Linked DNA regions of Homo sapiens: region 1 is linked to region 2. Evidence: promoter capture Hi-C in human tissues and cell types (Jung and others, 2019). All regions are on one chromosome and are shown on one strand. The core of a region is centred on a gene start or on the middle of the fragment in contact, and the rest is flanking DNA. Distances in the headings are between cores, read along the strand shown. Region 1 has its middle 26 kb from the start of LINC01206. Region 2 holds the start of SOX2 (SRY-box transcription factor 2).

What was found. The method cuts DNA at HindIII sites, captures the fragments that hold promoters and counts their contacts. A contact is called where the count stands out against the background at its distance.
Region 1: a fragment that was not itself captured here is called in contact with the fragment with the promoter of SOX2 in region 2 in 2 of the 25 tissues and cell types used here (bladder and neural progenitor cells).

The regions. Positions count from the first base shown.
Region 1 is chr3:181,925,052-181,928,070 of GRCh38, forward strand. No RefSeq gene overlaps it. Among named protein-coding and RNA genes, the nearest start is that of LINC01206, 26 kb to the right of the region's middle. RefSeq lists enhancers at 810-1,403, 1,404-1,995. The HindIII fragment of the contact is 5,593 bases long and covers 1-3,019 here.
Region 2 is chr3:181,710,325-181,713,523 of GRCh38, forward strand. SOX2 (SRY-box transcription factor 2) reads left to right here and starts at 1,601. Exons shown (of 1, transcript NM_003106.4): 1 at 1,601-3,199. The coding sequence starts at 2,037. The coding sequence ends at 2,990. All of the region lies in intron 6 of SOX2-OT (SOX2 overlapping transcript), which reads left to right. RefSeq lists enhancers at 30-883, 884-1,736, 1,737-2,590, 2,591-3,199, a promoter at 829-1,862 and a silencer at 1,442-1,501. The HindIII fragment of the contact is 19,833 bases long and covers 1-3,199 here.

The DNA.
Region 1 (3,019 bases), core at 77-2,576, 210 kb after region 2:
TAAGCCTAGAAGCCAATGGTTATTTTTTCTGATCCTCTCTTCCCTCCCACCCCCTACCCACATGTAGGCCCCAGTGTGTGTTGTTCCCCTCTTTCTGGCCATGTGTTCTCATCATTTAGCTTCTACTTGTTAGGGAGAACATGCAGTATTTGGTTTTCTGATCCTGCATTAGTTTGCTAAGGATAATGGCCTCTAGCTCCATCCATGTTCCTGCAAAAGACGTGATCTCATTCTTTTTATTTTTATTTTTTTATTATTATTATTTTTTTAGTATTTATTGATCATTCTTGGGTGTTTCTCGGAGAGGGGGATTTGGCAGGGTCATAGGACAATAGTAGAGGGAAGGTCAGCAGATAAACATGTGAACAAGGGTCTCTGGTTTTCCTAGGCAGAGGACCCTGCGGCCTTCCGCAGTGTTTGTGTCCCTGGGTACTTGAGATTAGGGAGTGGTGATGACTCTTAATGAGCATGCTTGCCTTCAAGCATCTGTTTAACAAAGCACATCTTGCCCCGCCCTTAATCCATTTAACCCTGAGTTGACACAGCACATGTTTCAGAGAGCACGGGGTTGGGGGTAAGGTTACAGATTAACAGTATCCCAAGGCAGAAGAATTTTTCTTAGTACAGAACAAAATGGAGTCTCCTATGTCTACTTCTTTCTACACAGACACAGTAACAATCTGATCTCTCTTTCTTTTCCCATTTCCCACTTTTCTATTCGGCAAAACCGCCATCGTCATCATGGCCCATTCTCAATGAGCTGTTGGGTACACATCACAGACGGGGTGGTGGCTGGGCAGAGAGGCTCCTCAATTCCCAGACGGGGCGGCCGGGCAGAGGCGCCCCCCACCTCCCGAATGGGGCGGCTGGCCGGGCGGGGGCTGCCCCCCACCTCCTGGACGGGGCAGCTGCCGGGCGGAGACGCTCCTCACTTCCCAGACGGGGCGGCTGCCGGGCGGAGGGGCTCCTCACTTCTCAGACGGGGCAGCCGGGCAGAGACGCTCCTCACCTTCCAGACAGGGTCGCGGCCGGGCAGAGGCGCTCCTCACATCCCAGACGGGGCGTCGGGGCAGAGGCGCTCCCCACATCTCAGACGACGGGCGGCCGGGCAGAGACTCTCCTCACTTCCTAGATGGGATGGCGGCCGGGAAGAGGCTCTCCTCACTTCCCAGACTGGGCGGCAGGGCAGAGGGGCTCCTCACATCCCAGACGGGGTGGCGGCTGGGCAGAGGCTGCAATCTCCGCACTTTGGGAGGCCAAGGCAGGCGGCTGGGAGGTGGAGGTTGTAGCAAGTCGAGATCACGCCACTGCACTCCAGCCTGGGCAAGATTGAGCACTGAGTGAGCGAGATTCCGTCTGCAATCCCGGCACCTCGGGAGGCCCAGGCGGGCAGATCACTCACGTTCAGGAGCTGGAGACCAGCCCGGCCAACACGTCGAAACCCCGTCTCCACCAAAAAATACAAAAACCAGTCAGGCGTGGCGGCACGCGCCTGCAATCCCAGGCACTCGGCAGGCTGAGGCAGGAGAATCAGGCAGGGAGGTTGCAGTGAGCCGAGATGGCGGCAGTACAGTCCAGCCTCGGCTGGGCATCAGAGGGAGACCGTGGAAAGTGGGAGACGGGAGACGGGAGAGGGAGAGGGAGAGGGAGAGGGAGATCTCATTCTTTTTTATGGATTGAAAGTATTCCCTGGTGTATACGTACCACATTTTCTTTTTTTTCTTTGTCTTTTTTTTTTTTTTTTTGAGGTGGAGTCTCAATCCGTTGCCCAGGCTGGAGTGCGGTGGTGCGATCTCGCCCCACTGCAAGCTGCGCCTCCTGGGTTCACGCCATTCTCCTGCCTCAGCCTCCCGAGTAGCTGGGACTGCAGGTGTCCGCCATCACGCCCGGCTATGTTTTGTATTTTTAGTAGAGACGGGGTTTCACCGTGTTAGCCAGGATGGTCTCAATCTCCTGCCTCAGCCTCCCAAAGTGCTGGGATTATAGGCGTGAGCCACCGTGCCCGGCCGTACCATATTTTCTTTATCCAATCTGTCATTAGTGAACATTTAGATTGATTCCATGTCTTTGCTATTGTGAATAGTGCTGCAGTGAACATGAAAGTGCCTGTGTCTTTATGGTAGAATGATTTATATTCTTATGGGTGTATACCCAGTAATGGGATTGCTGGGTGAAATGACTGTTCTGCTTTTAGCTCTTTGAGGAATTGCCACATTGCTTTCCTTGATGGTTGAACTAATTTACACTCCCACCAACGGTGTTTAAGAGTTCCCTTTTCTCCACAACCTTGCCAGCATCTGTTGTTTTGACTTTTTATTTTTATTTATTTTATTTTATTATTTATTTATTTATTTTTTTGAGATGGAGTTTCACTCTTGTTGCCCAGGCTGGAGTGCAATGGCACAATCTTGGCTCATTGCAACCTCCGCCTCCCAGGTTCAAGCGATTCTCCTGCCTCAGCTCCCGAGTAGCTGGGATTACAGACATGTACCACCATGCCTGGCTAATTTTTGTATTATTTTTATTGTTATTTTTTAGTACAGATGGGGTTGCTCCATGTTGGTCAGGCTGGTCTTGAACTCCTGACCTCAGGTGATAGGCCTGCCTTGGCCTCCCACAGTGCTGGGATTACAGACGTGAGCCACCAAGCCTGGCCTTGACTTTTTAATAATAGCCATTCTGACTTTTATGAGATGGTATCTCACTGTGGTTTTGATTTGCACTTCTCCAATGATCAGTAATATTAAGCATTTTTTCAAGGCTTGTTAGCCATATGTATGTCTTCTTTTGAAAAGTGTCTGTTCATGTCCCCTGCCAACTTTTTCTATAGGGTTGTTTTTTTTTCTTGTTTAAATTTACTAAATTTAAACAAGAAATTTAAATTTTTTCTTGTTAAATTTATTTAGGTTCTTTATAGATGTTGGATATTAGACCTTTGTCAGATGCATAGTTTGCAAATATTATCTCCCATTCTGTAGGTTGTCTGTTTACTCTGTTGACATTTTCTTTTGTCGTGTAG
Region 2 (3,199 bases), core at 351-2,850:
ATGGCATCAGGTTTTTTTTTCTTTATTCCCCCCCACCCCACCCTTTGTAGTCAAGTGCATTTTAGCCACAAAGATCCCAACAAGAGAGTGGAAGGAAACTTAGACGAGGCTTTGTTTGACTCCGTGTAGCGACAACAAGAGAAACAAAACTACCTATTTGTAACGGACGTGCTGCCATTGCCCTCCGCATTGAGCGCCTACCTATTGAAATCTTTACGTCGGGACAATGGGAGAGCGGCTAAAATTACCCTCTTGGGTCCTGGGCGGGCAAGATTCCTGAGCCCCTACCCCCGCCCCCATCTCATCCTCCTCTAACCCGGGCCTTGCTGGGCTCCCCCTTCCCCAGTCCCGGCCGCCTTCTCCCAGTGTGCGCTGCCTGCACCTGTGCCTGGAGAGCATCGACCCCGCCTCCCAGGCCTTGAGCCCCTTTGCGGCGCAGCCCCAGCCTTGCGCGGCCTGGGCTTTGCGGCCACCACAATGGAAATCTACGGGGAAAATGCCAGGGCTGGTTCTGCTGGAGTCCTGGGAACTCTGCGTGGGAGGGAGTTTGTGACTGCGGCCCAAAAGCCACCTCCATACAGTGCCGTGGGATGCCAGGAAGTTGAAATCACCCTCCCCCATCGCCTGCACTTTTGAGCGCCCTTCCGTCTGTGTCTTTCCCCAGCCCCCATTTGAAAGCCGCACGACCGAAACCCTTCTTACGGGGAGGCATGGGATGGGAATGGGGAGTGGGGGCAGACAGTAGAAGCATCCCCTTTGCTACGGTTGAATGAAGACAGTCTAGTGGGAGATGTGGCTGGGGCTAAGAGGAAGAGCTGCAGTTTCCTGGGCCAAAGAGCTGAGTTGGACAGGGAGATGGCAGCTTACCAAGGCCTGCTGGTTCTCAGCTCTAGAGTCTGCCTTATGGTCCGAGCAGGATTTATTTTTAAGAACAGAGCAAGTTACGTGGAAGCAAGGAAGGTTTTGAGGACAGAGGTTTGGGTCTCCTAACTTCTAGTCGGGACTGTGAGAAGGGCGTGAGAGAGTGTTGGCACCTGTAAGGTAAGAGAGGAGAGCGGAAGAGCGCAGTACGGGAGCGGCACCAGAGGGGCTGGAGTTGGGGGGGAGTGCTGTGGATGAGCGGGAGAACAATGACACACCAACTCCTGCACTGGCTGTTTCCAGAAATACGAGTTGGACAGCCGCCCTGAGCCACCCACTGTGCCCTGCCCCACCCCCGCACCTTAGCTGCTTCCCGCGTCCCATCCTCATTTAAGTACCCTGCACCAAAAAGTAAATCAATATTAAGTTTAAAGAAAAAAAAACCCACGTAGTCTTAGTGCTGTTTACCCACTTCCTTCGAAAAGGCGTGTGGTGTGACCTGTTGCTGCGAGAGGGGATACAAAGGTTTCTCAGTGGCTGGCAGGCTGGCTCTGGGAGCCTCCTCCCCCTCCTCGCCTGCCCCCTCCTCCCCCGGCCTCCCCCGCGCGGCCGGCGGCGCGGGAGGCCCCGCCCCCTTTCATGCAAAACCCGGCAGCGAGGCTGGGCTCGAGTGGAGGAGCCGCCGCGCGCTGATTGGTCGCTAGAAACCCATTTATTCCCTGACAGCCCCCGTCACATGGATGGTTGTCTATTAACTTGTTCAAAAAAGTATCAGGAGTTGTCAAGGCAGAGAAGAGAGTGTTTGCAAAAGGGGGAAAGTAGTTTGCTGCCTCTTTAAGACTAGGACTGAGAGAAAGAAGAGGAGAGAGAAAGAAAGGGAGAGAAGTTTGAGCCCCAGGCTTAAGCCTTTCCAAAAAATAATAATAACAATCATCGGCGGCGGCAGGATCGGCCAGAGGAGGAGGGAAGCGCTTTTTTTGATCCTGATTCCAGTTTGCCTCTCTCTTTTTTTCCCCCAAATTATTCTTCGCCTGATTTTCCTCGCGGAGCCCTGCGCTCCCGACACCCCCGCCCGCCTCCCCTCCTCCTCTCCCCCCGCCCGCGGGCCCCCCAAAGTCCCGGCCGGGCCGAGGGTCGGCGGCCGCCGGCGGGCCGGGCCCGCGCACAGCGCCCGCATGTACAACATGATGGAGACGGAGCTGAAGCCGCCGGGCCCGCAGCAAACTTCGGGGGGCGGCGGCGGCAACTCCACCGCGGCGGCGGCCGGCGGCAACCAGAAAAACAGCCCGGACCGCGTCAAGCGGCCCATGAATGCCTTCATGGTGTGGTCCCGCGGGCAGCGGCGCAAGATGGCCCAGGAGAACCCCAAGATGCACAACTCGGAGATCAGCAAGCGCCTGGGCGCCGAGTGGAAACTTTTGTCGGAGACGGAGAAGCGGCCGTTCATCGACGAGGCTAAGCGGCTGCGAGCGCTGCACATGAAGGAGCACCCGGATTATAAATACCGGCCCCGGCGGAAAACCAAGACGCTCATGAAGAAGGATAAGTACACGCTGCCCGGCGGGCTGCTGGCCCCCGGCGGCAATAGCATGGCGAGCGGGGTCGGGGTGGGCGCCGGCCTGGGCGCGGGCGTGAACCAGCGCATGGACAGTTACGCGCACATGAACGGCTGGAGCAACGGCAGCTACAGCATGATGCAGGACCAGCTGGGCTACCCGCAGCACCCGGGCCTCAATGCGCACGGCGCAGCGCAGATGCAGCCCATGCACCGCTACGACGTGAGCGCCCTGCAGTACAACTCCATGACCAGCTCGCAGACCTACATGAACGGCTCGCCCACCTACAGCATGTCCTACTCGCAGCAGGGCACCCCTGGCATGGCTCTTGGCTCCATGGGTTCGGTGGTCAAGTCCGAGGCCAGCTCCAGCCCCCCTGTGGTTACCTCTTCCTCCCACTCCAGGGCGCCCTGCCAGGCCGGGGACCTCCGGGACATGATCAGCATGTATCTCCCCGGCGCCGAGGTGCCGGAACCCGCCGCCCCCAGCAGACTTCACATGTCCCAGCACTACCAGAGCGGCCCGGTGCCCGGCACGGCCATTAACGGCACACTGCCCCTCTCACACATGTGAGGGCCGGACAGCGAACTGGAGGGGGGAGAAATTTTCAAAGAAAAACGAGGGAAATGGGAGGGGTGCAAAAGAGGAGAGTAAGAAACAGCATGGAGAAAACCCGGTACGCTCAAAAAGAAAAAGGAAAAAAAAAAATCCCATCACCCACAGCAAATGACAGCTGCAAAAGAGAACACCAATCCCATCCACACTCACGCAAAAACCGCGAT